3 separate regions of the Homo sapiens genome follow, and all the other regions are linked to region 2. Evidence: promoter capture Hi-C in human tissues and cell types (Jung and others, 2019). All regions are on one chromosome and are shown on one strand. Each heading gives the region's core, a stretch centred on a gene start or on the middle of the fragment in contact. The rest is flanking DNA. Distances are from core to core; before and after follow the strand shown. Region 1 overlaps MGA (MAX dimerization protein MGA). Region 2 holds the start of JMJD7 (jumonji domain containing 7). Region 3 overlaps MGA (MAX dimerization protein MGA).

Region 1 (2,700 bases), core at 105-2,604, 93 kb after region 2:
AATGTATCAACTTTCACAATTTGGGAGTTTTCCAGGAAGAAAAAGTTCCAGAGAATAAGACTACAATAGTCCTCATTATCCTGCTGACTGGGCTCTAACAGGTAGTTCCCTTAACACTACTCTAAATGCCACAATTATTACATTAGAGTTAGCTTGCAAACAAACCATGACCTACAACCAAGGTTAAGCTTCACTGGTATAGGTTACTATTTTGCTATACATACAGGCAAAGTGAAACTACTTGCTAGATGCTTTGAAACATGTACAGATTAGAGTCAATCCAAAAGAACAGCAAGAAAAATAGTATTCTGATTTTTTTTTTTTTTTGAGACGGAGTCTAGCTCTGTCGCCAGGCTGGAGTGCAGAGGCGTGATAGCTCACTGCAACCTCTGCCTCCCAGGTTCAAGTGGTTCTCCTGCCTCAGCCTCCCGAGTAGCTGAGATTATGGACGCGTGCCACCACGCCCAGTTAATTTTTGTATTTTTACTAGAGACGGGGTTTCACCATGTTGGCCAGGATGGTCTTGGATCTCTTGACCTCATGATCCACCCGCCTCGGCCTCCCAAAGTGCTGGGATTACAGGCGTGAGCCACTGCGCCCAGCTGTAGTATTCTGATTTTAAGTGCACTCTAACTCTAATTTCTACTGCAAATACCTCTGAATTACTTCTGTGCTTCTAGATATGATTGCTCCATTTCTACACTGTTTGCAGATCACTCAACTACCCAAAGTATTCTTTCCATGGCAACATGTTGACTAGACATGTATTTCACTAGACTCCTGGATTTCTTTAGCACAGCTTCCCAATGAGTGTACTGGTATGTCAAGGGCCCCCATAATCCTCAGGGTGCTCACGCTCTCAGGCAGGTTCCCTCCACCCTAGTAGCCTCCTCCACTTACCGCAATGTGCTATAGAAACATTGTTAATTATTTGTATGTACCATGACGTTTTTTAAGAAGTTAGGAAGCCCTGCTGCTTAAGTGTCAGAAGTCTCGGGAAGCATAACCAAAAACAAATTGGTAACCACCTGACCACTACCTGTCATCAAAGTAATTCTGACAGTAGCCTCTGCCAGCTAAATCACAGTAATATTCCTTCCTTTCTCCTTCTAGATTTCCCCAGAGGTGGCAGTGATGGAGGACCAAAGGCTAATGATGCCAATATTACTGGGGTTTGGAAAGAGGTTAAAAAAAAAAAAACTCACTGACCTCAACCTAAATGTCTCTTGCAACAACATGCTTTATCAACATGAATGAATTTTCTTTTATTTTTGAGAGCAGGAGTGTTAACAGACCAAATAATGGGGAAAAAAAACTTTTACTTATTGTCCCTGTTTTTGGCATAAGTTTGAAACAGGGTAGGCAGACATATTCTGAATTGATGGTTTGGGTTTTCTCCCATTATTACTATAATCTAGACCTAAATAATTTTTATCAAATGTTAAGATCTAGTTTTCATTCTGACCTTGTAATTTATCAGAATCATCCTCCAAGTCACAGGTGAGTTGTTTTAAGGGCTGCTGTTCAGAATCAGGTTCCTGAAGGAGACAGTAACACAGAAATACTTTAACTTAACATATATTCAATACCCACAGAAACTTGGACACAAGCATTAAATCTCTCACAGAAGTTTAAATCATTAGAATGACTGAAATGTCAACAGCTTCAATCCACATGCACATCTACGTTACTATCATATAAAACCCTGGGTAAAAACACATAGTTTTGCTACCTAATGTCCTTGATAGTGACTGAGTCATCAAGAAAAAAATTCACATTGTACTTTAAAGAGGGAAACATATTTACTGTTAAATGAAACAAACTACAGTTATTCAGAAAATTCACCAGTTGAGGCCAGTCTCGGTGGCTCATGCCTGCAATCCCAGCATTCCGAGAGGCCGAGGTGGGAAGATCACTTGAGCCCAGGAGTTCAAACCAGCCTGGCCAACAAGGCAAAACCCCATCTATACCAAAAATACAAAAGCTTAGCCACAAATGGTGGCACACACCTATAGTCCCAGTTGGTTGGGAGGCTGAGACAGAAGGATCGCTTGAGCTGAAGGTTGCAGTGAGCCGAGACCATGCCACTGCACTTCAGCCTGGGTGACAGAGTGAGGCCCTATCTCGAAAAAAAAAAGAAAGAAACAAAATTTGCCAATGTGGAAAGATGCACACCCTAATAATTACAGACAAATTAATAAAACTAGAATTTTTAAAATTACTCCAGGATCAGAAAGAATAATACTTTTTAATTTATCAAATCCTCTATTAACAGGCATTCTGCCTCCAATTTCTCATTAGTAAGGGCAATAGTGCACTGAACAGCTATATATATGCGTATGTTTGAGTAAACATACATACATGCACATATCTTTGTGCCCTCATGCTATGTACACTTACAATTTAGGGTCAAAAAGATATGCACATTTAAATTTTTTTGTTTTTGTCATTAACAAATTGCTGTTTAAAAGAAAACTGCTGATTTATACCTTTAGTGGTTTTCCGGGGAGTCACCACTGATGTTGAGGTGGCAGTACAAGCGAAGGTGGAGCCCCCAGCCATCAGCTGAACCATGGAAAGGGAAGAGGTGTAGCCTAACTACAAGGGTAACTGGAATCAGAACTTATTATTTAAATTATCTGTGAATGTGTGCCTCAGTTTCTCATATAATCCTCCATGGGTTGGACAGACTGCCACCTA
Region 2 (2,700 bases), core at 138-2,637:
TTAGCCAGGCGTGGTGGCGCATGCCTGTAGTCTCAGCTACTCCCAGGTGCTGAAGCAGGAGGATCTCTTGAACCTGGGAGGTCGAGGTGCAGCGAGCTATGATCGTGCCACTGCACTCCAGCCTGTGTGACAGAGTAAGACCCTGTCTCAAAAAATATAAAGTATTTAACCAACAAACATACTCACACATGCGCAGAAGACGCTGCTCCTGCAGACTGGCTTCTTCACTGTTTCCTAAACACATCAGGCATACTCCCAAAGAGGGCTTTGCCTGCACTTACCTTCTAACCTACTTCTTCTACTCTACAATGTACTCATTCAGTACACCTGTGGTTGATTGTCCACGTTCTCACTTAGAATGTAACAGGACATAGACTGTAAAAGACAGATTTGTTTTGTTCAGTGATGTATCTCAAACACACTGAACAGAGCCTGGCACACAGAGATGCTGAATAAGTATTTGTTAAATCAATCCTCAAAGTATTCGTTGCAGCATTATTGAAAACAACGGATTGGACATGACCTAAATGACTAAGTGAATACAGCACTAGCACACAGACGTGAAAAAGACTGAGGTAGAGGAATGTGAAATGATCTCCAAGATACACGGTGCAGAAGAGTGTGTTTAGCAGGCTACTATTTGTACAAAAAAAGGGTAAAAAGTCGTGTGTGCACGGATATAAACAATCTTTCTGTAAGAATGCAAACTGGGGCTGGGAGGAAACCTTGCTTCATTTACATTGCGTACCACTGTATATTACATACCCATCACATACACATGAGCCTGTGTTGCTGTTCAGTGGTAAGAAATCATTTAAAAATAGAAAAAAGAAGGAAGGAGGGAAGAGAGAAAGAAAGAAAAGGAATAAAAACCAAGCAGGGGAAGAGCCAGGGACCATTTGGTCAGCCTGCAATCCTCCCAAAGTGCGACAAGGGAGTTGAGGTCGGAGGTGGGGCGCGTGGGGGAGGAATCCGACCACCAGCTGTGTGCCTTCGATGAGCTTTCAACAAGGGTAACAGCAAGCTGCTCAAGACTGTAGGAAACACAGGGCTTCGCCGCGACCACGGTCAAGACGGCACCGGGCCTTGGGAACAACGTGAACAGAATCACCCAGGAAGCCGCGGGAGCGCGCGAACACGGGAGAAGGGAAGCAGGTTGCCACAGAAGAGCAACCCGAGCGGGGCCTCAGGGCAGTCGCACACACGAGGTTCCGAGCCCCCGGTGTCAGCGGCATCCCAGGGCCCCTCCCGTGTTCGGAAATCGCCGCAGCCTGTGGGAGAGCCACTCACCCCTTGCAGCGGCCGGGAATTCTCGTAACTCGCTCCGCACGGCTTCCAAAGCCGCCTCCGCCATGGCTGCGTCAGCGCCGGCCGAGACCCCGCCTTTCCCCGACGCCCCGCCGCAGGCCACACCCCAAGCACTCGCCCCGCCCTCCCCAGAGTCCCCGCCGCAGGCCACACCCCCAGACCCTCGCCCCGCCCTTCCAGAGGCACCCGCCGCAGGCCACACCCCCAGCACCCCGCCCCGTCCTGCCCCTGGACACACACCGGGTTCTGCCACCGAAGCGGTGGAGCGACTGGCAGCGCCCGCTTCGGCCTGCCCCACTGGCCGGCATCCCAGGGTTAACAAACAATTGTGTTTATTGACAAGTTCATACATCAGTACAAACGGGCACGTTAAAAACAGCGCCCCCGCCCCATGCAGCCGAGGATGAGGCAGGAAGCGCCGCGACCTGCACAAAGTATAAAAGTTATAAATAAGGGGCTTTCAAAACAAGGCGGGGGCAAATCTGGAGTGGGGCGGCGGTTGCCGGTGGCCTCAGACATGCAGAAGGGGACGGGGCGCCGGCCGGGCCACGAGGCCCCCCACCCACATGGGGCAGAGGGCAGGAAAAGGGCGGCCACATTCTCACAAACTTCTGGCGAAGGGTAGCTCCCTCCTCGTGAAGGACCTGGCCCAGAGGGCGAACCTGAGTCCCACCTGCGGTGGGCGCGGCTGGTGTGGGAAGTCGGGGCACAGCAGGCACGGGCCCGCCCCCGCCGCCGCGGGAGTTCCAGGGCCATGCGGGTGGCGATGCTAGAGGAGTGGGGAAGGGCCAGGTTTGGAGCAGCTCAAGCGCACTCAGGCTGATGCCCCGGAGCTGGGAACCTTTTGTAACCCTTTTTCTTTTTTTTTTTTGAGATGGCGTGTAGCTTTGTCACCTAGGTTGGAGTGCAATGGCGCGATCTCGGCTCACTGCAACCTCCACCTCCACCTCCAGGGTTCAAGCGATTCTCCTGCCTAAACCTCCCGAGTAGCTGGGATTACAGGCGCCCACCACCACGCCCAGCTAATTTTTTTATTTTTAGTAGACAGGGTTTCACCATGTTGGCCAGGCTGATCTCGAACTCCTAACCTCAGGTGATCCACCCGCCTCGGCCTCCCAAAGTGCTGGGATTACAGGCTTGAGCCACCACACCTGGCCCAGAACCCATTTCTTTATAAGCCTCTGCCTATGGCGCAGCAGGGCGGGTGAAGGGGCTCTCGTGGCCTGAAGCTGTGGTAAAGCTGCTCTGACTTACCTGCAGCAGAGGGGAGCAGTAGGGCCCAGAAAAACCTTTCCTCAACTCTTCAACTGCCTCACGACATGGTCCCACTCTACCTCCTAGGGTCCCCTATCTCCTTTCCCTCACCCCTAATTACTGCCCTTTTACATTCTA
Region 3 (2,700 bases), core at 193-2,692, 71 kb after region 2:
ATGAATTATGTAAATAAGCTATTATGAAAATTCTTGTTATATCTGAAAAATGCTTCAGAATAAATTTTTAAAAGCCAAATATAATGATATATGCAAATAATTACAACCATGCAAATACGCTGTATCATATAAGTCCCAAATCAGATCAAAACCAAACAAACTGCACTATGATTTTTTAAAGGAACCAAATGCCACCCTCTACTTCAACCCAACCCCCATCATTGTCTTTTTTTAATCTTTTAAATTAAGATAGAAAAACAAGTGGAAAACAATTTAAACAAACCAAACTCTCCTCCATGCCTACTGTTGGTTAGGATAAACAAAAAACCCTGCTTAATTATGTTACTATGATATAAACCAAAAAGATTAAGAAAATTAAAGGTTTATTTTTTCATGGATCCCTAACTGCTAGCCATTTTGCAGAGCATAGTTTTTTAAATCACTTAAAATCATGAGCCCAAGCAAGAAAGAATGGCACCTTGTTTTACATCAGACCATTACAAGAACAGTTTTCAAATAACCACATATATTCTCATAAATTTCATATCCATTTTTAACTCCTCTACATTAGTCTATCCTCTGAGGAGAAGAATTAAAAGGGAAAAAAAGGACATTAGCAGTATAATTTGATTAAGGAGAAAAAACTGATTATATTAACTCACTGGCAAAAATAGCCCTGAGAAAAAATCGTGGCTAATATAGCTAATGTTGTTTCAACCCTAAGATAAATGTTAACAATTTTATTCAATGAGTAATTATCACTAAATATATCCTAAATACCTTTCGACTCCTTTCAGCTGCTTTTTCATCTGCAGAGATGTGAGTACAGGACCTGGATAAAGACAGGATTTTTCAGTGTCTTACTGAAATTTAATAATCTAAGACCTATTTCACAGCTACAACCAAACCATTCCAAATTACAACCAGTTTCTTTTTCCCAAGGTGTGATATATGGCCACATTATTTACTTGACATTATATATTTTCTCTAAAAGTGTACAAATAGTCACTAAAACTTCAAATTACTTTGTACAATCATGAAATATTTAATATACAAAACCATATAAACAAATTTAAAGTTGTCCTTCAGTATCCAGGGAAGACTCGTTCCAAAACTTCCAGCAGTATCTTTGAATACTCAAGTCCCTGATATAAAATGGCATAGTATTTGCATATAACATAGGCACCTCCTCCTGTATACTATAAATCATCCCTACATTACTTATAACACCTAGTACAATGTAAAAACTAAGTAAACAGTTGTTATACTGTATTGTTTAGGGAATAATGACATGAAAATAAAGTCTATACATGTTCAATACAGATGCAATTTTTCTTCTTCCAAGTATTTCCAATCCACAGTTGGGTGAATCCACAAATACATGCTTTCTATATTTGTGGATACATGCTTTTCCATTATAAACTTGGTCTTCCCATCCGTGAAGGAGGACCAAGCGTATAATGAACACCCACATATGAACCATCTAGCTTGAGAAATAATACATCTCAAAAATACAGAAGGTTCTATGTGCAGTCTACTCAATCACATTCCCTTCCTTCCTTCTCAAAAGTAACCATTCTAAGACAGAGTTTACCATGCACACTTTTGTAAGTCTTACTAGAAATATATATATATATATCTAAACAAAAAAAGTACCACTTTAAATATTATATACTATACTATATCTTTCTGCAACTCATTTGTTTCATTCAATATTCCACCTGAAGGCCAGGCACAGTAGCTAATGCCTGTAATCCCAGAACTTTAGGAGGCCAAGGCACGAGGACTGGTTGAGGCCAGGAGTTCAAAATTAGCCTGGCCAACATAGCAAGACTCCGTCTCTACAAAAAATATCGAAAATAAAAGTACAAATAAATTACACCTGAGATATGTTGATACGCAGAGTTCCAATTCCAATTGTTTTAATTGTTATATAGTTATATAGTATTCCACAATGTGAATTTCCCCGAATTTTTTTTTCAGAATGTTAGTAGTTATTTAGGTTGTTTCTAAATCTTCATAATAGCAAACAATGCTGCAATGGACAGTCCCATACACGACCCCTTGTGAAAATTTTTCTGGGGCATAGGAGCAGAGGAAAGATATGCACACCTTCAACTTCAGTAACTGTTAAACTGGTAATAACAATGTACACTCCCACTTGCAGTATGCGAGTTCCCATTGCTCCACACCTAGATAACTGTACCACCAGAAATCTCCACTTTTGAAGTCTTATGGGTGTGAATTGGTAAAGTCACTGTGGTTTTATCTGTATTTCCTTAATTACTTGTGAGGCTGAACAAATGTACATGTGTTTGCTGGGCTTTTAGGTTTCTTCTTCTTCTGTCAACTGTCTCTAATATCCATTACTTTTCTACTGGGTCATCTTTTTCTTACTGACTTGTAACAATTTTTTTATACCCTTGACACTAATCCTTTGTTAGTTAATACGTATGGCAAACACTTTCTTCATATCTGAGTTTGGCTTTTCACTGTTTTCACGGTGTTCTGACAGAATTTTTCAATTCTTTTAACTTGTATTTTTAATTAAATTTAAACAATTAATTTAAACAAATCTAATTAAATCTTTAATTTTTTTTTTTGAGATGGAGTCTCACTGTGTCTCAGGCTGGAGTACAGTGGCACAGTCTCAGCTCACTGCAACCTCCACCTCCCAGGTTCAAGCAATCCTCCTGCCTT

Evidence for each region. The method cuts DNA at HindIII sites, captures the fragments that hold promoters and counts their contacts. A contact is called where the count stands out against the background at its distance.
Region 1: a fragment that was not itself captured here is called in contact with the fragment with the promoter of JMJD7 in region 2 in 3 of the 25 tissues and cell types used here (H1 embryonic stem cells, lymphoblastoid cells and mesenchymal stem cells).
Region 3: a contact is called between a fragment that was not itself captured here and the fragment with the promoter of JMJD7 in region 2, in 3 of the 25 tissues and cell types used here (aorta, lymphoblastoid cells and mesenchymal stem cells).

The regions. Positions count from the first base shown.
Region 1 is chr15:41,733,360-41,736,059 of GRCh38, reverse strand. It overlaps MGA (MAX dimerization protein MGA), which reads right to left. Exons shown (of 24, transcript NM_001400225.1): 12 at 1,466-1,538. Among named protein-coding and RNA genes, the nearest start is that of MAPKBP1, 40 kb to the left of the region's middle. The HindIII fragment of the contact is 3,107 bases long and covers 1-2,700 here.
Region 2 is chr15:41,826,779-41,829,478 of GRCh38, reverse strand. JMJD7 (jumonji domain containing 7) reads right to left here and starts at 1,387. Exons shown (of 8, transcript NM_001114632.2): 1 at 1,291-1,387. The coding sequence starts at 1,354. MAPKBP1 (mitogen-activated protein kinase binding protein 1) reads right to left here. Exons shown (of 31, transcript NM_014994.3): 31 at 1,624-2,700. JMJD7-PLA2G4B (JMJD7-PLA2G4B readthrough) reads right to left here and starts at 1,387. Exons shown (of 25, transcript NM_005090.4): 1 at 1,291-1,387. The coding sequence starts at 1,354. RefSeq lists a silencer at 1,410-1,499 and enhancers at 1,234-1,528, 1,560-1,789. The HindIII fragment of the contact is 30,158 bases long and covers 1-2,700 here.
Region 3 is chr15:41,755,920-41,758,619 of GRCh38, reverse strand. It overlaps MGA (MAX dimerization protein MGA), which reads right to left. Exons shown (of 24, transcript NM_001400225.1): 19 at 781-832. Among named protein-coding and RNA genes, the nearest start is that of MAPKBP1, 17 kb to the left of the region's middle. The HindIII fragment of the contact is 4,374 bases long and covers 1-2,700 here.